Regions from separate parts of the Homo sapiens genome. Here all the other regions are linked to region 3. The links are contacts of gene promoters, found by promoter capture Hi-C in blood cells and fetal thymus (Javierre and others, 2016). All regions are on one chromosome and are shown on one strand. Each heading gives the region's core, a stretch centred on a gene start or on the middle of the fragment in contact. The rest is flanking DNA. Distances are from core to core; before and after follow the strand shown.

What was found. Contacts are between HindIII fragments. The CHiCAGO score rates a contact against its expected background, and 5 or more counts as called.
Region 1: a fragment that was not itself captured here is called in contact with the fragment with the promoter of TEX52 in region 3 in 5 of 17 cell types (megakaryocytes, M2 macrophages, endothelial precursors and 2 more); the score reaches 10.6 in megakaryocytes.
Region 2: a fragment that was not itself captured here is called in contact with the fragment with the promoter of TEX52 in region 3 in 2 of 17 cell types (megakaryocytes and endothelial precursors); the score reaches 6.3 in megakaryocytes.
Region 4: the fragment with the promoter of CACNA1C-AS1 here is called in contact with the fragment with the promoter of TEX52 in region 3 in 3 of 17 cell types (total CD4 T cells, naive CD8 T cells and total CD8 T cells); the score reaches 5.4 in total CD4 T cells.

The regions. Positions count from the first base shown.
Region 1 is chr12:3,026,848-3,033,853 of GRCh38, reverse strand. The region is part of intron 10 of TEAD4 (TEA domain transcription factor 4); the gene reads right to left. Among named protein-coding and RNA genes, the nearest start is that of TSPAN9, 47 kb to the left of the region's middle. RefSeq lists an enhancer at 1,128-1,689. The HindIII fragment of the contact is 2,524 bases long and covers 3,289-5,812 here.
Region 2 is chr12:3,053,703-3,060,054 of GRCh38, reverse strand. No RefSeq gene overlaps it. Among named protein-coding and RNA genes, the nearest start is that of TSPAN9, 20 kb to the left of the region's middle. The HindIII fragment of the contact is 1,356 bases long and covers 1,165-2,520 here.
Region 3 is chr12:2,853,366-2,859,837 of GRCh38, reverse strand. It overlaps TEX52 (testis expressed 52), which reads left to right and starts at 2,799. Exons shown (of 3, transcript NM_001365174.2): 1 at 2,799-2,883; 2 at 4,392-4,942. The coding sequence starts at 2,812. It overlaps FOXM1 (forkhead box M1), which reads left to right. Exons shown (of 9, transcript NM_021953.4): 9 at 175-2,158. The coding sequence ends at 1,200. It also overlaps a transcript of ITFG2 not described here. The HindIII fragment of the contact is 21,263 bases long and covers 1,584-6,472 here.
Region 4 is chr12:2,689,242-2,695,991 of GRCh38, reverse strand. It overlaps CACNA1C-AS1 (CACNA1C antisense RNA 1), which reads left to right and starts at 4,835. Exons shown (of 4, transcript NR_045725.1): 1 at 4,835-4,923; 2 at 5,013-5,185; 3 at 5,782-5,852. It overlaps CACNA1C (calcium voltage-gated channel subunit alpha1 C), which reads right to left. Exons shown (of 47, transcript NM_000719.7): 47 at 1-5,092. The coding sequence ends at 4,793. RefSeq lists a silencer at 4,106-4,375. The HindIII fragment of the contact is 2,873 bases long and covers 3,057-5,929 here.

The DNA of each region.
Region 1 (7,006 bases), core at 3,301-5,800, 170 kb before region 3:
ATATCCCCCCACACTGAGCAACCACCCAAAACAAGCTACGCTTCTTGGCCTAAGAAAAAATGAGAGCTGCCCCGGTCCCCTGCCCTGTGAGTGCCCCCTTGCAACCCTCCCTCCGCCCTATTCATAGCTGTGCGTGCGGGTGGGCAGCTGTGCCTGGAACAGGTGTGGGGGATCGGGTGACTGACAGATGAGCAGAGACAGCCGCAGCCCGGGTGTGGGGGCCTGGAGGGGCTCAGATTCATTGTCATGTGCTGGTATGTGCCTGGGAGAAATGTCAGGGACTGAAAGGGAAGAGCAGGCTGAGATGGGAGGAAGGCCTGGGGTACTCTGCTGCCTCCACGGTGCAGCCCGGCTCTGCCTGGCATTTCCAATGTGCAGAGCGGCGTTAATGGCCACCAAAGGCCCCCTCTCACCGGCCCCAGAGACAGGTGGCCTCTGCTGGACTTGCGGGGCTCTGGGGGAGGAAGGGAGCTTCATCGCATCAGTCCCTCGCTCCAGGCCCCGTGGCGCTCAGCAGATAGGGCTGAGGCTGTGCACAGCCCTAGCAGCCTCAGCCCTTCAGGCTGGCAGATGCCACTTCTAGCTGGAAATGTGTCCCAGCAGTCCGAGAGTCTATGAATGACCACCACAGCGCCCTCAGTAAGAGCAGTAACTCAGGGGACAGGCAGGGAGGCTGGACTGGAGACGGACAAGTCCTCCTCCCACTCCAAGGGGGTTCTGATTGCCTCTCCAGCACACACATTCAGGGCCTGGGAGCCAGGACTGAGAAAACAGCCAGGCAGGAAAAGAAAGGCTCCGGGAGAGGCGACACCGTTTCCTTGCCTGAGCAGTTTTCCTTCCTAACTGTGTGTGGCCAAGTTCACACCAGCTGATGGAGGGGGAAGGCGGGACCAGGCCAGGGAGCAGAAGACAGGAGCTTCCCGATGCGGGGGGAGCCGGGGCAGCCTGTGAGGACCCACGATTGACGCAAAGTCTCATTGTCAGCAAACACGAATATGTACCTTTCCCCGTCACATATGTGTCTTCCTCTGGTGCCTCTGCCCGCCCCACACATGCGGAGGAGGGAGCAGATGACCGCCAAGGTGCCCTGGCCTCCGGCGCTCCCTCATCTCTGATTTCACCTGCCCAGGCCGCTGGCACTCAGAGGGCTCAGGCAAGGGGTGGGGCAAGGGCAGGCCACAGCCCCCCACTCAGTACCAGCCGGCCACATACACGGGGTCTTCAGCGACACAGCCCCTGGCAGGTCCCCAAGATCAAACTGCTGACTATTCACACAAAGAAGCAGAGGCACAGAGAAGCCAATATTTGCCCAGGACACAGTTCTCAAGTGGTAGAACTGAGACTCTGCCCCAGCTGGGGCCAACTGCTGCCCACCGTGCCCTGCCATGACACATCAGAAGGGCCTTGCTGGGGGGCACACCACAGCCCCCTGTCCAGCGGCTCCTGTCCCAGGACCCCGAGACTCGCGCTGGATCCTCCCATCCAGAGTGCGAGCTCCTGGAAGCCGAGGGCCGCGCTGGGTCCGTACAGCACACGGCTGGAGCACACGGTCCACAAGGGAACCTGCTGAATCCCATGTCTTTGGCACCAGCTGTCCCAACCCTCTCTTCTCCCATCAACCCCCACCTCCAAACTCCCCTAAGAGTCAGAAAGAAAGAGAGGACACAGGCCACTACCAAGTTTGGAAAAGTACCTTCTAGGTCCTCCTTCCTTCCTGGCAACCTTAGTCTCCACGCAGGGCCACTGCCCTATTTTCTGGAAGGGATATCTGAGGTCGAGAACGCCCAAGAAGCCCAAGGGGCTGGCTCTACATTGACTGCACAGAGCTAAGTCTGCTCTCCCCACGCTGCCACTGCCTGCTGTTCCTCAGGGGGCTGGGGATCTGTTTTAGACAATTCAGAGCCTTCTCCAGTGGGAGCAGGAGAAGCTCCAGGATGCTGCATGGAGGGCAGCCAGTGACTTCGCAAGGAGGACTGTTTAGTATGGTGGCTCCAAGCACACACCCTGGGGTCAGGCTGCTCAGGTATGGACCCGTGGTCTGGTATGGGTCTGGTACTATGAACTGGGCAACCTTTGGCAGGTGATTCTACCTGTCTGTACCTCAGTTTCCCCTCTGCAGATGAGGTTATCCAGTCTTGGCTGTGGTGAGGATGAGACGTGTGACTGTATGTAACGTGGTGAGAAGAGTGCAGCTGTCATCTCTCTCAGTCTATCTGGGCCCATCTATCTCACAGCATGTATCCAACAGGAGTGCCCACAGGACAGAGGTCACCCTGGCTGGGGGACTCAGGGCCAGGCCCTGCTTACTCCATGCCTCAGTTTCCCCTACTTGTGAAACAAGAGACCTAGGATGGTCCTTATCTGGAGGGTGGCTAGAAGAACACAGAATATCACCAATAGCTAAAGGCAGGAGCTAGTGCAAGAGGGTCCCGGACATGCCACCTCCCGCTCCAAGGCAGTGTTCCCATGAGTGCTTCCTGCCACTGCCAACTGGGTCTCCGCTCTGACCCCAACTGTATCCCCAGGGTCCTGAGCCATGCCGGGAAAGAGCCACAGATCAGCTCGCCTAAGCTCCTTCCGCTGAGTCAGGGCTGAGCCTGGACAGGCCGGGGGCGGTGAGTGCTCAAGCAAGGGTGAAGGCTTCTCCAGGGGGCTGGGGGCCCCCTCAGACTCACAGCAGGGTTGGGAAGCGCCACTGCCAGCTGTACAGGTTCCAATTCCCACAACCGGGGCTGGACGGGAGACTGGGAGATGATTTAAGCCCCTCCTGAGAAAAAGTGGACAGCATCCTGCCTCCCACGCCACACCCTGAAGCCAGCCTCTCGGCCGAGGTCCTCAGGAGGCACATGCGTCTTGCCTGGTCTCCACTGCAGGAGTCTCACACCTGCTTCCAGTCTGGGTGCCAGAGTTAACCAACTAAGCACAACCCTGGCCACGTCCTGCCCTGTTCGAAAACCTTAAATGACTCCTCATCGCTTAAGGAGAAGGGCTAACAAATATTTCCCTGGCTACGCACGTGGCCATGACCGTCCACCCAGCACTCCTCCCTGCTAGAGCCTTCTCAGCCCAGCACTCCAAACAGCGACTGCCGACCCCTTCGAAGTGGCACACAGGTCACCCCATCATCCTGGACACCTGGCTAAAGGTGGGAGACTGACTACCCCAGTTTATTTTTTCCCCTTCCAGAGACCCAGCTAGAAGGACAACAGCAAGTAACTTTAAACAATATGCAGCACCACAAAGATAAAGAAAACAAAGAGACCAGCTGACAAGAGAGCTGGGCAAGCTTTGGAGACTCAAAGCTGATTAGGACCACACTGGATTCCACGGGGTAGAGAAAGCAAAAAGAGTCACAACCTACCAATATCTTCAGGGGTGACAGATAAGAAGCTGAGCTGCGTGGCTCGGAGCTGGAGGGAACAGGATTTGTCCCCAGGAACTGACAAAAAGTCTGTACACTGGACAGTCCAGCCCCCAGGCCCACCCCTCCCATGCATCGGTAGAAGATCAAAGGGTCAGCCGGGTATGGTGGCTCCTGCCCGTAATCCCATTACTTTGGGAGGCTGAGGCAGGAGAATGGCTTAAGCCCAGGAGTTTAAAACCAGTCTGGGCAACATAGCAAGACCCTGTCTCTATGAAATTAAAAATTAAAAAACACACCAACAAACAAAAAAACTTTTTAAAGAGGACCAAAGGGTGACCATCTTCAGAAATTAAACAGGAGGGCAACAGGTCTCAGGGACACAGGGCTTATTCAAAAGAGAGGGAAGAGGGGGAGTAAGAACAGGAGAGTTAAGTGAAAGCCAGCATCAGAAATGGTCAGGGCCCCTACCCCCGACCCTTTATCCCACTACCAGAACACTTGTGACCAAGTATGTCCCTTCCAGGGAAATTAGATGAATCGTCTCTGGAGAAACTAAATCACCTCAGGGGGAAAAAAAAGTCCAGTAAACACACATATTTATTGATTTCCCCAATAAAACAGCTAGCTCCCCAAGCCCAATCACCCTAAAGCGAAACCCACCAGGTGACAAGTCCTACCTTGCACGAAGAGCTCCCAGTCACTACTAAATATAACCAGAACAAATAACAAAAGGAAAACTTGATAAACTGGACATCATCAACACTAGAAACGTTTGTGCATCAAAGGACACTACTAGGAATGTGAAAAGGGGCCAGGCACAGTGGCTCACACCTGTAATCCCAGCACTTTGGAAGGCTGAGGCAGGAGGATCACTTGAGGCCAGGAGTTCAAGACCAGCCTGGGCAACATAGTGACACCCTCTATAAAAAATTTAAATAAAAATAAAAACTTGGGCCGGGCGCGGTGGCTCACGCCTGTAATCCCAGCACTTTGGGAGGCCGAGGCTGGTGGATCACGAGGTCAGGAGATCGAGACCATCCTGGCTAACACAGTGAAACCCCGTCTCTACTAAAAATACAAAAAAATTAGCTGGGCGTGGTGGCGGGCGCCTGAAGTCCCAGCTACCTGGGAGGCTGAGGCACAAGAATGGCGTGAACCCGGGAGGCGGAGCTTGCAGTGAGCCGAGATCATGCCACTGCACTCCGGCCTGGGTGACAGAGTGAGACTTCATCTCAAAAAAAAAAAAAAAAAAAAAATTGGCCAGGCGTAGTAGTGCATGCCTCTAGTCCCAGCTACTCAAGAAGTTGAGGCGGGAGGATCACTTGAGCCCAAGTTCAAGGTTGCAGTGAGCAATAATCATGCCAGTGCACTCCAGCCTGGAAGACACAGCAAGACCCTGTCTCTGAAGAAAAAAAGAAAAAAGAATGTGAAAAGACATTCAACAGAATGGGAAATAATAATTACAAATCATATAACTGATAAGGAACTTTCATCCAGAACTAAGAACTCATAATTCAATAATAAAAAATAACCCAATTTATTATAAAAATGGGCAATGGGGTTGGGGACAGCGGCTCACACGTGTAATCCCAGCACTTTGGGAGGTTGAGGCAGGCGAATCGCTTGAGCTCAGGAGTTCAAGACCAGCCTGGACAACATGGTAAAACCCCGCCTTTACCAAAAATACAAAAATGAGCTGGGCATGGTGGTGCGTGCCTGTAATTCCAGCTACTCAGAAGGCTGAGGTACGAGAATCAGTTGAACCTGGGAGGCAGAGGTTGCAGTGAGCCAAAATTACGCCGCTGTACTCCAGCCTAGGTGACAGAGAAAGACTGTCTCAAAAAAAAAAGGGCAATGGACCTAAATTTCTGAATTGGCATTTCTACAAAGAAGATATACGAATGGCCAGTAAGCACATGAAAAGATGCTTACCATCATCAGTCATCAGGGAAATGCAGATAAAAACCACAATGAGATACCACTTCACATTTGCTAGGATGGCTACAATCAGAGAATATCAAGTGTTGGTGAGGATGTGGAGAAAATAGGATCCTCATACCCTCATACCCTGCAGGTGGGAACAGAAAACGGTGCAGCCACTTCGGAAGACTCTTGGGAGTGCCTCAGAAAGTGAAAGAGAGTTGCCATATGACCCAGTAATTCCAGACATAAGCATATGGAAATGAAAATGAACGTCCACACAAACACTGGTACGTAATGTTCACAGTAGCACTACTCCTAACAGCCAAGAGGAGACAACCCAAATGCCCATGAACTGATGAATGGATAAACAATGTGGACTCTCCGTACATTTGGCCATAAAAAGGAACGTACGTGCTACAACATGGTTGAACCTTGAAAACACTATGCCAAGTTCAAGAAGCCAGTCACAAAAGACCACATCCTCCACAAACCCTTTTATACAAAATGTCCAGAATAGGCAAAGCTTCAAAGACAGAAAGTAGATTATTGCACAGGGCTGGGGGGTAGGAGTGGGGAGTGACAGCTAAAGGGAACAGGGCTTATTTTCGGGATGATGAAAATGTTCTAAAATTGATTGTGGTGATGGTTGCACAACTTTGTGAATATACTTAAAAACTCGGAATTGTATACTTTATTTTTTGAGATGGGATCTTGCTCTGTCACCCAGGCTGCAGTGCAGTGGTGTGATCTCAGCTTACTACAACCTCTGCCTCCCAGGCTCAAGCGATCTTCCCATCTCAGCCACCTGAGTAGCTTGGATTACAGGCACGCACCACCATGCCTGGCTAATTTTGGTATTTTTAGGAGAGATGGGGTTTTGCCATGTTGGCCAAGCTGGTCCCCAACTCATGGACTCAAGCAATCCACCCGCCTCGTCCTCCCAAAGTGTAGGGGTTACTGGCACATGCCATCACGCCTGACTAATTTTTGTATTATTTTTGTGGAGACAGGTTTTTGTCATGTGCCCAGGCTGGTCTCAAACTCCTGAGCTCAAGCAATCTGTCTGCTTCGGCCTCCCAAACTGCTGGGATTAAGATGTGAGCCACTGTGCGTGGCCTGTATGTTTTAAGTAGGTGAACTGTAAGGTAAGTTAATTACATTGCAAGAAAGCTGTTAAAAAAATACAGACAGGCAGCTAAGAACTAAAGACACCAAAGAAAACCCTCCAGCTGGAAAGACAAGGACCAAAACAAACAGAAAAACGGAATTAAAAAGAAACAAAGACAAAGAAAGGAGCAGGAGGCTGGGTGTGGTGGCTCACGCCTGTAAATCTATCACTTGAGGTCAGGAGTTCGAGACCAGCCTGGCCAACATAGCGAAACCCCTCTCTCTACTAAAAATACAAAAATTAGCCAAGCGTGGTAGCGGGCACCTGTAATCCCAGCTACTTGGGAGGCTGAGGCAGGAGAATTGCTTGAATAGGGAGGCGGAGGTTGCAGTGAGCCGAGATCACACCACTGCACTCCAACCTGGGCAACACAGCAAAACTTAGTCTGGGCGTGGGTTGGGGGAGGGTTAGGAGCAGGAGAAAACTTAAGAAGTAACACTTACTTCATACCTTTAAGAAAAAGAGGAGAAAAACTACATCCATCAAACATCTTGATGCAATCACAGAACAAGAAGGAGCTCTGGAAAATTAAAATGTCAGAGCCGAAATTA
Region 2 (6,352 bases), core at 593-3,092, 200 kb before region 3:
GGATCTAAGTAGGTATACATCCATTTATGACATTAAAAAGTTCATTAATGTTTTAATTGGAATACACATATGGGGGGAAGGAGGTAGAAAAAAATATATATATATAGTTGTTTTTATAAAAGAAGAATAAGCTGGAAGTTTAAAAGGGGAGAAAAAAATGAAAACCTTTTATAACAGGGTGTATTTTTTTAAAGGACTTAGAGTTGGAGTTGAATTGGACACATCAGCACGAACTCATTTCCCAGCTCCCACTGGAGTGCACTAGAAGCAGACGCCTGCCTTTAGTTCTCACACGGATAATGTGATTCGCACCATGAGCGCCCAGACATAACATTCAACTGATAACATTTGCCACTCAAAGAAACAGGGCTCCTTGGGGAATAGCTGATTCCATACCTTGGTGCAAGAAAAATCAGAGTTGGCCTGAGCAGACTTTGCTAGAAGTATGTAAGTTAAAAAACAAAAATGTTTAAGGTAGTGTTAAAAGGAAAAAGGACGCAGCATAAAAAGTCAAAGCTGGGCCGGGTGCGGTGGCTCACACCTGTAATCCCAGCACTTTTGGGAGGCCAAGGCGGGCGGATCACGAGGTCAGGAGATCGAAACCATCCTGGCTAACACGGTGAAACCCCATCTCTACTAAAAGTACAAAAAAATTAGCCGGGTGTGGTGGCGGGCGCCTGTAGTCCCAGCTACTCGGGAGGCTGAGGCAGGAGAATGGCGTGAACCCAGGAGGCAGAGCTTGCAGTGAGCCGAGATGGCGCCACTGCACTCCAGCCTGGGCGACAGTGCAAGACTCCGTCTCAAAAAAAAAAAAAAAAAAAGAAAGAAAAAAAGTCAAAGCCAGCCAGGCACGGTGGCTCATGCCTGTGATCCCCACTCTTTGGGAGGCTGAGGCAGGAGAGTCACTGGAGGCCAGGAATTCAAGACCAGCCTGGACAACATAACGAGACCCCACATCTACAAAAAATAAAAAAATTAGCTGGGTGTGGTGGCGCGTACCTGTAGTCCCAGCTACTTGGGAAGCCGAAGTGGAAGGATCCCTTGAGCCCAGGTGTTCAAGGCTGCAGTGACATTGTCTCTAAAAAGAAAAGAAAAGAAAGGAAAAAAAGGCAAAACTGTGATCATCTGATTATCAAAAAGAAAACAAAAATGTAGTGAAAAGCTTGAGTCCATAATGGTACTGGATATGGGTTATACTAAAAGTATATGTGAGCTCCTGAAAATGTCAACTGGTTTTTGGTTGTTTTTGTTTTGCCAAAGCCAATTGTTCTGAAGTGTCCACTTTTAAAACACTGTGCATACCATAGCCAAGTTTTGATTCATAATTAAGCTATGAATTTCTTGTACTTTTTTTTTTTTCTTTTGAGACAGAGTCTGGCTCTGTCGCCCAAGTTGGAGTGCAGTGGCGCGATCTCGGCTCACTGCAAGCTCCGCCTCCCAGGTTCACGCCATTCTCCTGCCTCAGCCTCCCGAGTAGCTGGGACTACAGGCGCCCGCCACCACGCCCGGATAATTTTTTGTATTTTTAGTAGAGACGGGGTTTCACCGTGTTAGCCAGGATGGTCTCGATCTCCTGACCTCGTGATCCGCCCGCCTTGGCCTCCCAAAGTGCTGGGATTACAGGCGTGAGCCACCGCTCCCAGCCCGAATTTCTTGTACTTATGTATTTATATCAGGTAATGAGATTTAAAGGACACTCAGGGATGAAAGATGCACTGAGTTATTTAAAAACAAAAAACAAAACAAAACAAAACAGTGAGAGTTCTATGAATCTTGTTAATTCGGCAGGAAAAACTTGACCAAAGGAAGCCACCCACACTGATAATTGCCAGCCTGGGAGAAATGACTGTAGAAGGCACATCCAGGCCCCACTCCCAGACCCAGTGCCCAGGCTCCAAGCATCTCTCCATACTGGAACAGCACGGCAGCTCCAAATCTGGAACTCATACCCCGATCTGTAACCGTACCTCAGACCTACATCTTCAACTGATTTCAGCCCAACTGTGAGGCTAATTCTGCTTTCTTTCTTTGGATAGAGGCTTAAAAATAAATATAAAGAAGATGATGGACACGAACGTACATTAATACTCTTGTAATACCTTTAAGGAGTAACTACTTTAATAGCTTTAGGTAATAACTACTGCAAACACTGGGATGATTTGGGTTTTATCTGCTTTTAGTTGAGGTAAAATTCACGTAACAAAATTAACCACTAATGACTTTAAAGTATAGAATTTTAAAATCTGCTTTTTAAAGTGTTGGAAAAGTGTAAAAGCATGTGACATTAAACTTGTGATATTAGTTTAGTATTTAGGTAGATTAAGTTTGGTGGTTAAATGCTTAAATAAATCTAATTGGGTCTATAAATTGAGGCTATGTTTTGTGAATAGTGTTTAAATTATTAGTGCTACATGCTTAGTGTCTAAGATTTTGTTAGATTTGTATATCTGCCTTGTTAGATGTTTGAATATTAATATTAATATAGTTTAAACAGCCTAAGCTAATTTAATTAATCAAGCTTATAAGTAATATTTAATGTTTAGAGAATTTATAAGCTAATCAGGCATTAATCAAAGAACAAGTGATAGAAATACTAGATTTATGAGCAAAGTAACATAAAAATACTAGATTTATGAGCAAAGTAATAAATTGTATGAGTTGAACTTAACAAAACTAGTCTTGAAAATGTACAACTTTGGGTGCAGTGGCTCATGCTTGTGGTCCCACCATTTTGGGAGGCTGAGGCAGGAGCATCACATGGGACCAGGAGTTGAAGGCTGCAATGAGCCATGATTATACCACTGTGCTCCAGTTTGGGTGACAGAGCGAGACTCTGTCCCCCCAAAACAAAGTAAAACAAATAAAAATGAAAATAACAATAAAATGTACACCTTCAATAAACTGGAAACATAAGTAAAATACACAAATAAATTTGTTCCTCTCCACGCATAAAAGCTTCCCTCAGGCATTAAAAACTCAACTGACCATGACTTAGTAGCTTATAAACTAACACAAAAGTATAGAAAGAGATTTATTTGTTGAAATTTTGACAGTTAAAAATATTACAAGTCAAATTAAAAGGAAGCACCTCTTTCAAATTTAATTTTCTTTCATTCATTTTTATTGGTGTTTTGTTTGTAAAGAGAAAAGTCACTAATTTTTACAAACGGTGATGAATATGCTGCTCAAATGCATACCTTTCCATGGAAGGAAGTCTCTGTATCCCACTCATATCCCTACTCCATCTCCATGGGGGAGAGGAGTTATCATGGATTGACCATGGCTTTGGGGTGATCAATCTGTACCTGGTCAAAAAGTCTAGCTCTGTTGTTTCTCAAACTTCAGGAACCCCCTGAGGATTTTGACTGGGAAGGGCTGGAGTGGGTGGGGTGAGGTTTGCACGTGCAGTGGGCTCCCAGATGACGCACTGGCACTCTTCCGGGGACCACGCTCTGAAGCCCAGAAAGTAGGTGCTGTTCACAAGTGAGCACCTGTGCATGTGGCTCCTTCCGTGGTCCCAGTGACCACAGGCTGGGGCTGCTCCCTCAGCCAGGTCCGCCCTCTCTCTCTGTAGTGTTGTTTTGTTATAGATTAGGGGTCTTGTTATGTTGCCCAGGCTGGTCTCAAACCCCTGGACTTAAGCAATCCTCCTGCCTCAGCCTTCCAAAATGCTGGGATTACAGACGTCAGCCATTGCACCCAGCCTTCTCTAGCATTTTCTTTCACACAGCAGCGGTGACCTTGTGTCAGGAGGCTTTGGGGCACCTGCCGCCTCTCACTTCTGCATCTCACACTCCCTCTGTTGATCTAGTGTGTGTGTGGCCTTGCCTCTGTCACGCAGATCAGATCCAAGAGTAGTTTGGGTATGGCTGGGAGGGGGAGAAATAGAATAGGAGGCCTGACACAACTCTTCATTTGTTATGTGACTCCCCCCAGTAGAATATAAGCTCCTTAAGGGCAGGGACTTTGATTTTATTCACTGCTGCATCCCCAGCAGACAGAACAGTGCCCAACACACCCTAGGTGCTTAGTACATGTTTATGGGATGAATGAGGCCTGTCTGGACTCTAGGCATTCCTAGAATTCCTACTGGAGGCCCTGGGAGGACACAAACCCAGAGGAGGGAGCAGGGCAGAGGGCTAACAGAAAATGGAGGCCACCCGGGGAATGTGATGAGTTGCCAAACCAGGAGAGCAAAAGCAAATATCAAAGCCAGGGACTCCAGCCAGGAATCCAAGCCCCAGCCAGATGAAGAGAAAGAGCAAGTGGGCCAATTATAAGCCGGGAGGGGCTCGAGGCCTTCCCAGGAGCAGGCATCTGAGGCGTGCTTTCATGTGTCTCCAGGGCCAGTGCTAGGGTGGGTCCGTCAAGATGAAAGGGGCACAGGGATGTGATGGACGGAATGGTGTTTCCTGGGGGCTCTTCCTTTTCCAGAACTAATGCTGGGAGACAGCGTGTGGTCTAAGAAGTCACAGGCTGGCTTTGAGTCCCAGCTTCCACTCTCCGACTGTGTCAACTTGAGCGAGTTACGTACAAGTCACTCACCTTTGCTTGCTGTTAAGACGGTGCAAACCCCTAAACAGCTTAAAATCAGAAATCTGTGTGTCCCCGGCAACTTCAACATAATGTTGGCAGACACCAGCCCCAAAGGGTCTGTGCAGGATTGGTGGGGATTTAGAGAAAGAAATTGGAAAGAAGTCAGCAAAGTAGTTACTGACAAGGAAAAGCAGAATAAGAGAATCATGCCAAACTTCAAAACTTCTCAGCTTGGCCTCTGAGGGAGCGAGGCTGTGAAGAGAAGCAGATCCCTTTGATTCTGAGAAAACATTGATATAGTCACAAGACACTCAGCAGACTCTTGGTCTGAACATCTGATTACTCCCTGATTACTTCTAAGATGGGATTGCTAGCGCGCCAGCTGGCAAGCACATTTCCCTCTCGTGGTGCTTGTCTAATGTTTACTTCCCTCTATTCTCCACAATCTCCTGCACCCCACATCACCCCTATAGAAATATTTTACTAGCCTGGGCAACATGGCAAAACTCTGTCTCTACAAAAAAAAAATAATACCGAAAAATAAGCTGGCCGTGGTGGCGTGTGCCTGTGGTCCCAGCTACTCTGGAGGTTGAGGTGGGAGGATTGCTTGAGCCTAGGAGGCAGAGGCTGCAGTGAGCCAAGATCGGGCGACTTCACTCCAGCCTGGGCAACAGAATGAGATCTTGTCTTAAAAAAAAGAAAAAAAAAGAGAGAGAGAGAGAGGAAAGGCAGGAAGACAGGAAGGCAGGCAGGAAGGCAGGAAGGAAGGTAGGAAGGCAGGGAGGCAGGGAGGCAGGGAGGCAGAGAGGCAGGGAAGGAGGGTAATTGTTGCACCAAAAAGGGATTGCTTTCTCCCTTAATGCTGGTGCTCTCTGGGGCCTTCAGGGCCAGCTTCCAACTCTCCTACCTGGCCTTAGGCAAACCCTGCACATGCGTCACCTGCTGTCCACCTCTTTTCACGAGCACTGTGGAGGCGCCAGGACTTCCAAGTTGAAGTACAGTGCAAGATCTGCAACCTAGTAACCAAGTGGCGTTGAGTTAGTGATTTCTCTGAGCCTCTATTTCTTCATCTGTGAAGAGGATGTCTACAGTATCACAGTGTAGCTGTAAACGGCAAGAAAGACGTTGTATTTGAAAGCGCTTTGTAGGGGGCCAGGCGAAGTGGCTCACACCTGTTATCCCAGCACTTTGGGAGGCTGAGGTGGGCGGGCAGATCACGAGGTCAGGAGATCGAGACCATCCTGGCTAACACGGTGAAACCCCGTCTCTACTAAAAATACAAAAAATTAGCCGGGCGTGGTGGCGGGCGCCTGTAGTCCCAGCTACTCGGGAGGCTGACGCAGGAGAATGGCGTGAACCCGGGAGGCGGAGCTTGCAGTGAGCCGAGATCGTGCCACTGCACTCCAGCCTGGGCGACAGAGCGAGACTCCATCTCAAAAACAAAAAACAAACAAAAACAACAACAAAAAAGAAAGTGCTTTGTAAACTGAAAAGTGCTGTAGTCAGGGTGGCTGGGCACAGTGGTTCATGCCCATATCCCAGCACTTTGGGAAAACAAGGCAGGAGGATCACCTGAGTACAGGAGTTCGAGACCAGCCTGGGCAACATAGTGAGACCTCCATCTCTAAAAAATAAAATGAAATAAATTAGCGGGGTGCGATGGCATGCACGTGTAGTCCCAGCTACTCAGGAAGCTGAGGTAGTAGGATTGCTTAAGGCAAGGAATTCTAGGCTGCAGTGAGCTATGATCACACCACTGCACTCCAGCTCAGACAACCAAGCAAGATCTTGTCTCTGGGAAAAAAAAAAAGAAGAA
Region 3 (6,472 bases), core at 1,550-4,049:
CCCGCATCTTTTACCCCCAGAATTGAACTACCAACTTCAACATACATCGTATTCTCATATTTAATAGATTTTAAGACTTCAAAACGACACAAAGAGGATCAGAACCCGTATGTGATATTTTTGTGCGTCCTGTCTGGTGACCGTTGGTTCACCTTATCTCTGTTTCCCTTTCAGGTGCTGCTAGCTGAGGAGGGGATAGCTCCTCTTTCTTCTGCAGGACCAGGGAAAGAGGAGAAACTCCTGTTTGGAGAAGGGTTTTCTCCTTTGCTTCCAGTTCAGACTATCAAGGAGGAAGAAATCCAGCCTGGGGAGGAAATGCCACACTTAGCGAGACCCATCAAAGTGGAGAGCCCTCCCTTGGAAGAGTGGCCCTCCCCGGCCCCATCTTTCAAAGAGGAATCATCTCACTCCTGGGAGGATTCGTCCCAATCTCCCACCCCAAGACCCAAGAAGTCCTACAGTGGGCTTAGGTCCCCAACCCGGTGTGTCTCGGAAATGCTTGTGATTCAACACAGGGAGAGGAGGGAGAGGAGCCGGTCTCGGAGAAAACAGCATCTACTGCCTCCCTGTGTGGATGAGCCGGAGCTGCTCTTCTCAGAGGGGCCCAGTACTTCCCGCTGGGCCGCAGAGCTCCCGTTCCCAGCAGACTCCTCTGACCCTGCCTCCCAGCTCAGCTACTCCCAGGAAGTGGGAGGACCTTTTAAGACACCCATTAAGGAAACGCTGCCCATCTCCTCCACCCCGAGCAAATCTGTCCTCCCCAGAACCCCTGAATCCTGGAGGCTCACGCCCCCAGCCAAAGTAGGGGGACTGGATTTCAGCCCAGTACAAACCTCCCAGGGTGCCTCTGACCCCTTGCCTGACCCCCTGGGGCTGATGGATCTCAGCACCACTCCCTTGCAAAGTGCTCCCCCCCTTGAATCACCGCAAAGGCTCCTCAGTTCAGAACCCTTAGACCTCATCTCCGTCCCCTTTGGCAACTCTTCTCCCTCAGATATAGACGTCCCCAAGCCAGGCTCCCCGGAGCCACAGGTTTCTGGCCTTGCAGCCAATCGTTCTCTGACAGAAGGCCTGGTCCTGGACACAATGAATGACAGCCTCAGCAAGATCCTGCTGGACATCAGCTTTCCTGGCCTGGACGAGGACCCACTGGGCCCTGACAACATCAACTGGTCCCAGTTTATTCCTGAGCTACAGTAGAGCCCTGCCCTTGCCCCTGTGCTCAAGCTGTCCACCATCCCGGGCACTCCAAGGCTCAGTGCACCCCAAGCCTCTGAGTGAGGACAGCAGGCAGGGACTGTTCTGCTCCTCATAGCTCCCTGCTGCCTGATTATGCAAAAGTAGCAGTCACACCCTAGCCACTGCTGGGACCTTGTGTTCCCCAAGAGTATCTGATTCCTCTGCTGTCCCTGCCAGGAGCTGAAGGGTGGGAACAACAAAGGCAATGGTGAAAAGAGATTAGGAACCCCCCAGCCTGTTTCCATTCTCTGCCCAGCAGTCTCTTACCTTCCCTGATCTTTGCAGGGTGGTCCGTGTAAATAGTATAAATTCTCCAAATTATCCTCTAATTATAAATGTAAGCTTATTTCCTTAGATCATTATCCAGAGACTGCCAGAAGGTGGGTAGGATGACCTGGGGTTTCAATTGACTTCTGTTCCTTGCTTTTAGTTTTGATAGAAGGGAAGACCTGCAGTGCACGGTTTCTTCCAGGCTGAGGTACCTGGATCTTGGGTTCTTCACTGCAGGGACCCAGACAAGTGGATCTGCTTGCCAGAGTCCTTTTTGCCCCTCCCTGCCACCTCCCCGTGTTTCCAAGTCAGCTTTCCTGCAAGAAGAAATCCTGGTTAAAAAAGTCTTTTGTATTGGGTCAGGAGTTGAATTTGGGGTGGGAGGATGGATGCAACTGAAGCAGAGTGTGGGTGCCCAGATGTGCGCTATTAGATGTTTCTCTGATAATGTCCCCAATCATACCAGGGAGACTGGCATTGACGAGAACTCAGGTGGAGGCTTGAGAAGGCCGAAAGGGCCCCTGACCTGCCTGGCTTCCTTAGCTTGCCCCTCAGCTTTGCAAAGAGCCACCCTAGGCCCCAGCTGACCGCATGGGTGTGAGCCAGCTTGAGAACACTAACTACTCAATAAAAGCGAAGGTGGACATGCTGGGCTCTGTGGTTTATTGGCGTCTGATTCCTAAGGCACCAGGAGAGGCTGGAAAAGAAAGAGGGTGTTGATGGAGACGATGGTGATAGGGAAGAGGCAAGGCCTGAAGTTCACCCAAAGCAGCAGTTGGAGCACTTGCACAGGCACACACTTGACAACACAAATTGCCAGTTTTCCCAGTGCTAGTCCTGCACAGCTCACCTCTTTTCCCTGGCGTCTCTGACCTTGTTCCTTGGGACCTTTGGACCTGCTGGTTAACTTAGGCCTTTTGAGGGTTCTTAATAAGACAAGCTCACGAGGGGTAGGGCCCCCTGAACATTAGGGCAGGAAGGGCCCAGTTACAGGTGCTTCATTCCCACTGCCATCCCCACCCTGAGGCCTGGGAGCCAGCCTGCCCTGCTTTTCTTCTGCCCGGCAGCAGCTCCTGTTACAGTTTTTTGCAGTCAGAACTTGAAGAAAGTGCTATCCCCTGCCTGTCTAACCTGAAAAGTAGCCAGGGGCCCAAGGGTCACAAGAGGCTCCAGGGACAGGTGAGGGCCTCTTCTCTGCATCACCACTCAAGCAGCATCACCATAGCAACCCCAGGAGTAAACAATGGTGCCAGAAAGGGCTTCCCCACAAAGCCGCCCCTCCTGGCTCTGAGGCCCAGAAGAATGGCCAGTAACCGGCAAAGATCACTCAGAGGGCCCAGTCACCCATCTCATATGGAAGAACCTTTCCTGCAGGTAGGGGGTGGCCCATCTCTGCCGCCTACCTTTTTGTACCCCACTGGGCTACAGGCTGTCCCTTATAGTGGGCCAGGCTTTCTTCTGGGCAGCAGACTGCCTGGCCCATACATTTTCTGCTGTCTTCCCCTTTTCATCCTATGACACTAGGAACCCAGAGCTCAGAACAGAGAGGAGATGCCTGGCTAGTGCCACATCTCCCAGCCCCACCCACTGGGGTGATCCTGTAGAAATGACTTAGGGGCCCAAGCTCAAGAAACAGGTGGGTTTTTGCAATCAGAAAAGTCCTGGGGGCCAGGCACAGTGGCTCACGCCTGCAATCCCAGCACTTCGGGAGGTCGAGGGGAACGGTTCACCTGAGGTTAGGAGTTTGAGACCAGCTTGGCCAACATGATGAAACCGTCTCTACTAAAAATACCAAATTAGCCAGGCATGGTGGCACGCGCCTGTAATCCCAGCTACTCAGGAGGCTGAGGCAGGAGAATCACTTGAACCCGGGAGGTGGAGGTTGCAGTGAGCCGAGATTGCACCATTGCACCTCCAGCCTGGGTAACAAGAGTGAAACTCCATCTAAAAAAAGAAAACATCCCTGGGGATGGATAGGAGGGCGAAGCATTTTAAAAGAGGCACATTTTTGTTGCAGTCAGGCACTGTGCTAAGTAAGGCCATTTCATTTCACCCAGCATGGTATGCCAAGCAAGAGCACAGACAGAGGGCTTAAGTCCCAGCTGTCACTCAGGCACCAGCACCCTGTGTGAGTCACCTACCCTTACTGTGTGTTGCTTTCTGCATCTTTGAGATGGGGACGATAGCAATACTTGCTCATAGAGTTGTGGGGGTTCAATAAGATCCATGTAAGTATTTAGCACAGCATCAATATGTACTTGCTGCTGTTTATTTAATGGGGGGCAGGGTGCAGAAAGGGGAAGGAGCTGCCATTCTAGATGCTTTCTATACTAGCGTTTTAATGAGGAGTGGGAGGAAAGCGTCAGTGACGGACAAATGAGTATTGAGAGGAGTCTGGGATGGGAAAACCCCTGGCCCTATTTTCTGGAGGACTTTCCTGGTATACCGCCAAGACCAGGAGCAAGTGAAGGTGGGCTGCCCCCCTTGGCATGGTAGGGAGCATTTCCCTTCATGATTTCCTGAGGCCTGATGTGCCCTCTAAGGAGCACCAGTTCCTGGGTGGGAATGTGGGGATGCCAGAACGGAGGAGGGAGGTGAAGGTAAAGAGTGAAAGCTGAGTACAGAGGGTGGGAAGTCAAAGCCAAAATATGGTCAATGGCAAGAGATCAAAAGATGAGTGACTGTGAAGATGATACGCAGCAGCCATAACTTCCGCCGGGAAGGAGAGGGATGGAGATGCGGCCCTGCCAGGACTTCTGCGTCCTCATGAGAATCCTGGGCTGGCAGAGGTCGTGCCTGGGAAGGAGAGCGGAGTGCCTCACCCACCTTTCTGCACCCCTGTCTGCACAACCTTCCCCAGGCTCCCTTTTGTCTCTCCCTAGATGGTCCAGGCCAGCGAGTCCCTCCCACCCTCCCAAACGTGGGCTCAGCGTGAGTTCTTCCTCCCCAGCGAGTCCTGGGAGTTCCCTGGCTTCACCCGGCAAGCCTACCACCAGCTGGCTCTGAAGCTGCCGCCCTGCACAGATATGAAGTCCAAGGTGCGTCAGCGGCTCATCCACCCTTGGAAGGGTGGCGCCCAGCACACCTGGGGCTTTCACACGTGGCTCGATGTGTGCCGTCTGCCTGCCACCTTCCCCACCCAGCCTGACAGGCCCTACGATAGCAATGTCTGGCGCTGGCTGACCGACTCCAATGCCCACAGATGCCCCCCCACGGAGCACCCCATCCCCCCTCCCTCCTGGATGGGGCAAAACAGCTTCCTGACCTTCATCCACTGTTATCCCACGTTTGTGGACATGAAAAGGAAGAAGCAGGTGATTTTCAGGACAGTGAAGGAGTTGAAGGAGGTGGAGAAGCTCAAGTTGAGGAGTGAGGCAAGAGCACCCCCACTCGATGCCCAGGGCAACATCCAGCCGCCAGCGAGCTTCAAGAAGTAAGACGGTGCCTCCTCAGGGAGCCCACCCAGCCTGCCCTGCCCAGGTGACCCCTCCCTCTCTCAGGTTCCTGTTTCTAACCGGGACTCTGTCCTTCCCCGCTCTGGCCATCTGAAAACCAAACTCTTTTCTGAGTGTAGCTGGAAGGACGAGGTGGAGACAAGGGAGGAACAGCGAGTGGAGGCAGGGAGTTTCACTAAAATCTGGGGGACAGCTATGCAGGTGACACCTGGTAGGCACTGGGGACACAGAGAAGTGTGACTCAGTGCCTGCCCTCAAGGAGCTTTGCAAAGATAGCTATCAAAAAAAGGCTACACATGCAAAGGGCCCAGAGTGCGAGACAGGGGGTGTTGTAAGGAAGTCAGTTATTAATGTAAAGAACTGGAGTGAAAGCTGTAGCCCGAAGGCCTGGAGTACAGTTCCAACCCCATCACCATGGTGAGGTGCCCAGCTTCTCCAGCCTCAGCTCCCTCACCGATGAAGGGGGGAGCCTCAGGTACCGACCTCACTGTGGGAGGATAAATTGAGCTAGTGAATATGTGGAAGAACTGAACAAAAGTTAGATGTTATGGCAGGGCGTGGTGGCTCACGCCTGTAATCCCAGAACTTTAGGAGGCCGAGGCGGCCGGATCACCTGAGGTAGGGAGTTCCAGACCAGCCTGACCAACATGGAGAAAGCCCATCTCTACTAAAAATACAAAATTAGCCGGGTGTGGTGATGGGTGCCTGCAATCCCAGCTACTCAGGAGACTGAGGCAGGAGAATCACTTGAACCTGGGAGGCGGAGGTTGCAGTGAGCCAAGATGGTGCCATTGCACTCCAGCCGGGGCAACAAGAGAGAAACTCCATCTCTAAATAAATAAATTAATTAAATAAAAGTTAGATGTCGTTACAGAAATTCAGGAGAGAAGGGGTGCAGCGACCTGGAGTGTCCCCGCCACAGGAAGGCCTCATGGGGAAGTCAGGGTTCAGGCTGGAAGGGTGGAAAGCCAGCAGACAGCTAAAAGCAGTGGCTGAGCCCCTCCAGGCAGGGCTGAGAAGTCGGGAGCGGAGCCAGGAACGTTGAGAGGAGCCGCTGTGAACCCCGCAGCTCCCCCTCCCGGCCACCCTGGGAACTCACGGATGCTTCCCAACTGTGTCCAGCCCAGGCACTACGCATGCAAGAGTAACAAGAAAGGGGGAAGGCAATGAAAAGGAATGTCTCAAATTCCAATCCCAAGGGCAGGACCAAAGCACTGGGGAGTTGGAGTGGCTGTGAAGATTTTTAATCTGAAAAAAAAACAAAAACAAAAACAAAAACAACAACAACAACAAAAAAAACAGGCCGGGCCTGGTGGCTCACGCCTGTAATCCCAGCACTTTGGGAGGCCAAGGCAGGCAGATCGCCTGAGGTCAGGAGTTCGAGACCAGCCTGGCCAACATGGTGAAACCCCGTCTCTACTAAAAATACAAAAATTAGCTGGGCGTGGTGGCAGGCGCCTGTAATCCCAGCTACTCAGGAGGCTGAGGCAGGGGAATCACTTGAACCC
Region 4 (6,750 bases), core at 3,586-6,085, 170 kb after region 3:
TATACAGTGCTCACCCTTGCAGGAGCAGGAAAGTCCCTCATCTAGAGCTCAACCCCAGCCCTTGTGCCTTAACGGTGTGTGTCTGTGTAGTGAGGGGGGTTGTTCAAGCATCCCCCGTCAATGTAGAGATGTGGCAGAAACCCGTTCACCTGTTGTATTGGTATCTGGCTCCAGAAAGAAAAGTTTCATTGCTTTGACATAAGAATAAATTGATGAATGAAGTTAAACCCAGAAGAGGCTTCACAAAGAGGTCGTGTAAGCATCTGCCCATGGGACTCCCTTCCACGCACCGTCTTTCTCACTAGGTGTTGGGGAGGACAGGGAGCTGGGGCTGGGGAGGGCAGTGGGAAGAGGGAGCTTTGCTTAGGGACAGGGAAAGGTGCCCCATTCCTGACAGTTGTAGGACTTTTCTTTCCCTCCTGTCTTCCCCCTCAACCTCCTCAAATCGTAGCCTCTGGAGAACCTGGACTCTGGCGGCTGAGGGCCTCCCTGGGAGTGAGGTTTGGGCTTCCCCGCCTGTCTTTGCACAGCAGCCTGTGTCAGGTGGCACCTGGACAGCCTGAGGGGAGGGACATCAGCAGAGGGGGGACAGGGTGGCAGACACCCCCACATCCCACCAGGTAGGCTGATGTGGCTGGAACAACACCCCCAGATGGAATGAGTACTCTTCTCACCTTCCCAAATAGATCCTTGAGATGTCAGCGGCTCCACCACACTGGTCACTGTGGGTGGGTAAGCTGAACACATCCTTCCATGAACTGGGAAGAGGCACAGAGGGAGTCAAAATATGCCCTTTTCTTGCCTCCATTCTCCTCCCAGTCCTCTCTGTGCTGACATTTGCCCCAGAGGCAGGTCTTCTTTAAAATATGGAAACGGCCCAGACTCCATCAGCAAGTATTTGCCTCCCCTGGGGTTTAAAGAGGTCTTCTGGGAGTCAGCAGGCCCTTTTTGTGGCCTCTTTGCTGAATTGTTTCTAATCCTTGACAATGATATTTCAATTCTTGGCCTCTAGGGATGGAGATGCCATCATCCTCCTTTACCACCTTTCCCACGATGAGGCTAAAAACCCCGATGACCAGGGTTCCACTCTATCCCTGACCTACATTCGTGTTTTCTTTCTTTGCCTTTAGGAGTGGTGGCTGTGTATCTTCAGGACTCCATAAAGTAGCCACCATCTTTTGGGTGACTTCCAAAGTCCTCATTTTCTAGGTGTCACTGTTGCTCAGGAGATGAACTTGGGCATGGAAAGGTCTGCTTCTCCTGAGGTTGCCCCACTGTCTTCAGCTGCATGGGCAGGAGACATGCTGGGTGGAGAAAAGCTGGGAGAAAGTAACGGGTAGCTTCACTCCAGACAAGCACCTGGAATTTGGAACTGGGAAATAGAATGAGAGACATTGCCTTGTTCCTTTGAGTGGATTTCCCAGTGAGAGTGAGGCCTATTGGATTAAGAAGAAGGAAAGGGGTTATAACTAGTACCTTCTGAATCAAAGCTGGGAAAAATTCTCCAAGGTCTGGAAATGAAAGAGGCAGGGCTGGTCGGAGGACAAGAATTAAGTTGACCAAACTGCAGACCTTAAACTGTTGTTTCTTCAAGTCCCTTGGGCCCTTAGCCCCTGACTGTTTTCTCCTGACACTTGGGGGCTGTCAGGAGGGGTATGGAAGATGTGACAATTATGTTTTACAAGGTCATGGGGAAAATTCCATTTTAGGTGGAGAGTAGACATCACTTGGAAGATTGTGCTGTGGTTCATTGATGTCACTACTTGTGCCAGTCTGTTCTGATGACAGGCATCATACGCCAGTCTTATTCTAGTGGATCAGAAGGTCAAGCTAGGATAGTCCTCCTGCCCTAGACAGGGAACGCCTGTGTGTACCTCCTGGTAGAAATCTTGGGAACTTTTCAAAGGATGATACCTAAACTCAATTTCTAGAGGACCTTGATGGCAGTGAAAAGGAATCAAGAAAGTTTGGATGACTTGGGTGTGGATATCCATAAAGAAACTCTGTTTCTAGACTGTGTTAACCGGGGAGTATTGAGTACATTTCTCCACTTTGTCATGAATCAGTCCAGCAAGCTGTCATAGAGGAATGGACTGTCCCTTATTGTAATTTCTAGCTTACTTATATATGTGCCAAGAGGGGCTCAGGGAACACTAGGACTGGAAGAGATTTAATGGGTCAATTCTGGGTGAATGGTTGGGTCCTGTTTTCCCCAAAGCAGTCCCTTTTCAGCCACCACTGTTGACATACATTTGAAGGACACAGCACCAAAAGAGTGATGTTCTAGGGAGATATAAGTGAGCATTAGAGATGCCCCCACAAAAATCTGTTCCCACCCCCACTGTGAGCTCCGGATGCCTCTTCCCTTGTCCTGGCCCCCTCCCCGGCAGCCCAAACATTAGGGCAAGCCTGAAGGAAAGGCTGCTCCAGAGTGAGGAAGGGATGGAGAAAGGAGCACGCAGAGTTGACTTTCAGATGGATCAGGGTTTCACCAGTTCCTTTCTCGAGCCCCTGCTGTCCTTGTTGGGTAGAGCAACAAGAATCCGGAAGTGAGGATGCCCCTCCCTCCAAGCAGCCTGACTTTAATTTTATCCTCCCGGTTAGTGTACACTTTCCTAAGGAAGCCAAAGAGAAAATTCCGTGTGGTGGAAGGGAAGGGAAAGCCAGCTACCTCTTCCATGGGGGATGCGGATGACGGCCCAGTGACTGAGGGCTCATCAGAACGCCTCCCTGCACCTCACAGTGAAGGGCTGTTCTTGGAGAAGTACCAAATCAGATGACCAGAGCAGAGTGGACAGAGTGAAGACTGGAATAAAATAGGTCCTGGTCTCTCACAGCAAGAGGCGGTACAAACATACCCAGCAAACGATTTTGGAAAAATTGAGGGAAATGTAAGCAAACACAAGATATGCAAAACAGTAATGTCCAAACCTGTTTGTGGAGAGCAGAATAATGACTACACTGGTGATACCTTTGCTCATTGTGCAAACTAAAGAAAACTTGTTCCCTTTCCCCCAACCACATATAGAAAAGCACTTGAGTTCAAAGGTAAAGCTTGTCACACTCCAAATACAAAATGATTTACTTTACATGCAGCAAAATATACAAGAAGTGAATCCGAAAACCAACTTAATTCAATTCATTATATTCGCTTGGCACAATTGCAATTCAGTTTTAAAAAAATATTTGAAAAATACTGAAACTGACCTGAATTCAAGTATAACGGTTTCTTCAACAGAAACATTATCAATGCAATAAAACATTACACGGAATATATTGAAGCAAAATGCCTTCTTGTGTTTTTCCCTTAAATTTCTGTCTTTTTTTAAAATACAGTTTTAATGCCAACACAACTCACAATTGTATTTTTAAATGAATATTATTGCATTGTTTTTGCATATCTTGTGGGACAGAAAATGCAAAGAGTTACTGATTCCCGTTTCAGAAGCAGAGACAGTGGTTTGTTTTTGCTTTCAAACGGCCCCAGATTCAGATCTTCCCACAGCTAAACCAGAAAGGGGGGACTGCGTAGTCACTGGTGTGCACGGGCACATGGTGTGGGTGCATATACACGGGCAGGACATATGCACACAGACAACCCACCACACACACACGCGTCGCACACACTCGGAGACTCTCTCGCGCATGCTCCTCTCTCCCAAACCCACCTGTACACCCAGCATAAAAAGGAACCCAACTCTATCACCCACATGTGCAAGACCACATCAAGTGCATTGCCAGTTACCTTTCCATTAGATAACCGAACCAAACCAGAACAAAAATAGGTTACTACCTAAGGAAATGATAACAAATTATTGGGCATACACAATGGTTGGTAAAACTCTCCTGCAGCGGCTTCTATTGAACCTCCGTGGAAAAAGGAAACCACAACCGTTTAAATAATACAAGAAAACCAAACCCGATGTACATTGGCAAAAGTGAAAACAGAAAGGTGAGGGGGCTACAGGACTTTGTAAACACTCTTCTTCCTCCCCTCCCGCTGGGAAAGCAAAATAAAACATTTAAAAAAAACCAAAACCGAAAAGAAACTGCAACATGCTGTCAAGAAAAGTGTCAAACCACAAAACAAAAGAGCGCTCAGCGGAAGCTCAGCACCACCTGGTTGGGCGGAGCCGGCGGCGCAGCTCCTCCCTCGCGCTGCCTGCGGGCCGGCGGCTGGCCGGGAGCTCGGCGTGGCCCGTGCCGGTCGGGGGATCCCGTCGCAGGTGGGCAGGGACGGAGTGAGCCGCACCACTGCCGGCCCGACGCCCATCCCCAGAGCTCCGCGCCCCTGGAGGCCTCCTCCTCCCTCTCCGGGCCGGGTTGGGGTCCTCCTGGAAGTCCTGCCCCGCTCCCTTCTCCAAATCCGCAGGGCCCTGGCTCTAGGGAGACAGCGAGGCTCGTACAGAATATGTGCAAATGGTTTCTACAAGCAGAGTCGAAAGACACCCGTTTGCTGTAGGGTCCTTTTGGTGAGGGCGCGCGGGAAGCCGGGGTGCTCTCCCCGCGGAGGCGCGGCCGGGCCCGGGGCCTGCGAGCTGGGAGAGGGCAGGCGCCTTCCTCGCGCCCCGGGACCCTCGCCGCCTCCTCTCCCCGCCTCTGCAGACGCAGCCGGGCGCCTTCCTCCCGGAGGGCGGCTCGCGCACCCAGGCTCCGCGTCTGGTCCCAACAGAAATGAATGAAGACGCTGTTCCGGTTAACTCCAGGTCACGAGAACAGTGAGGCACTTCTGAAACGAACCCATTAGGAACATTGAAACAAATAAAAAAAAGCCCGCATCTGGCAGCGCCCACTACAGGCTGCTGACGTAGACCCTGCTGTCCTGGAGCTCCTCCTCACTCGGTCGACCCCGCGCGCGCACACAGCCCGCGTCCTCTTCGCCCCCGGCTCGGTCCTGCCCCGCGTCCCTGCAGTTCACAAAGGGTAAGAGGGCGCCATTGGGGCTCTGTGGGGCGCCCCCGCTGAGGATGTTGTCGGCCGCGCTCTCCATCTCCTCTATGGTCATGTCGCAGGCGTCGGCCAGCTCCTGGGTGGTGACCTCGATGAACTTGGGATCTTGAGCAAACTGCCCCAGTCCTTCTGAAATCAAGACCTGAAGGAGCGGGGTGGGAGCCATGAAGAACCAAAGGAACATTACTCCTGGAGCCCAGCTCTTCCCTTGAGGGCTAGAGCGAGGGGGTATCTGGTAGGTCACTTGGGGAAGTGTGCGTGTGTGCACGTGTACGTGTGTGTGTTGGGAGGGGCACCCATGGGGAACAAGTGGAGATGGAGCATCTGCCAGAATTAGGGATGTGCAGGCCAGAGAAGTTTTGGCTGGGGTGGTCAAACACTGTCATCAAATATATGAAGACTTGCTTATGGCCCAGCACGGTGGCTCACACCTGTCACCCAGCACTTTGGGAAGCCCAGGCAGAAGGACTGCTTGAGCCCAGGAGTTCGAGACCAGGCCCAGGCAACACAGGGAAACTTCGTCTCTACAAAAAATTTAAGAATAATTAGCTGGGTGTGGTGATGCACACCTGTGATCTTAGCAAGGCCAGAGACTGAGGTGGGAGGATCATTTGACCCCAGCAGCGCCAGGCTGCACTGAGCTGTGATTGTACCACTACACTCCAGCCTGGGTGACAGAGCGAGACCCTGTCTCAAAAAACAACCAAAACAAAAACCAGAGAAGGTTTGGCTCTCAGAGGGGCCGGGGGGTTGCCCTGATGCTGTATCAGCAGATCCCAGCCTGCCTCTCTCCTTTCTGACACCCACTGAACCTTTATACTATTCTTTCAGAGAAACCATTCTCCCTGGTGAAACTGCTGAGACAGGCCCACTGCCCATTGCCTGCTGCTGCCTTTCCAGGGGTGAGGTATCTGTGCAAACACGGCGCATGCCCCTGCCTTGCTTCTGCTGGGAAGGGCCAGCAGGTGACCCTTAAGCTTCTCTGTCCTCCCTACCGGCTGCTTAGTGCCTGGCTATGGGAAAATCGGCTCCTGAGCCAGCGGGTCGGGGGAAGCTGAGTGCAGCCTGGCACTCGCTCCTTTCAGGCATCTGTTTGTCTTGCTCCTTGCCCACGCCACTCATTCTCTCCTTGCCCTGCTTAGTTTTTCTTTGGCACTCCTGACCTTCCTGATGTGTTATATATGTATGTGTTTATTATCTGTCTCTCCTCACCATGATGTGAGCTCATGAGAGCAGAAGCTCTGTTTCTCAGCTGTGTCCCTGTACCTAGAACAGGGCCTGCACATGGTAGGCGCTCAGGGAAGGTCTGTGAAATGAATGCAGGATGATCGAGGCCACAGGAATACCAGACTTTGAGAGGTAAACCTTGGAAGCCACCTGGTTTAACGCCCCACCTCCTGCACCACAGCCTGACGCCCGGATGAGCACAGTCTCTGCTTGGCTATGTCTGATGATGGGGGGCTCACTACCTTTCAGGCAAGCCCCTCTCATCTTGGAAGAGCTCATTTGGGAAGGTCTTCCCCATGTGAGCTGAAATCTGTCCGCTGGTGGGCTGAGCCTGCCACCCTTTCCCCATCCCACCCGTTGCAGGTGTGAGAGGTGTATCGCACCCTCCAAAGTCACCTCCTCTCCAGGTTTTCTTCCCGAATTCCCTGAAACGGTTCTCCTAGGAAATGGTTTCTAGGAACCTTGCCATCCTGGTCATCCTCTGTTGGGTTTGTTCCAGTGTGTCAAAGGTCCCTAATAATGTGGTGCCGGGATTGCACTAGATGCTCTGACCAGGCAGAGCACAGTGGGACT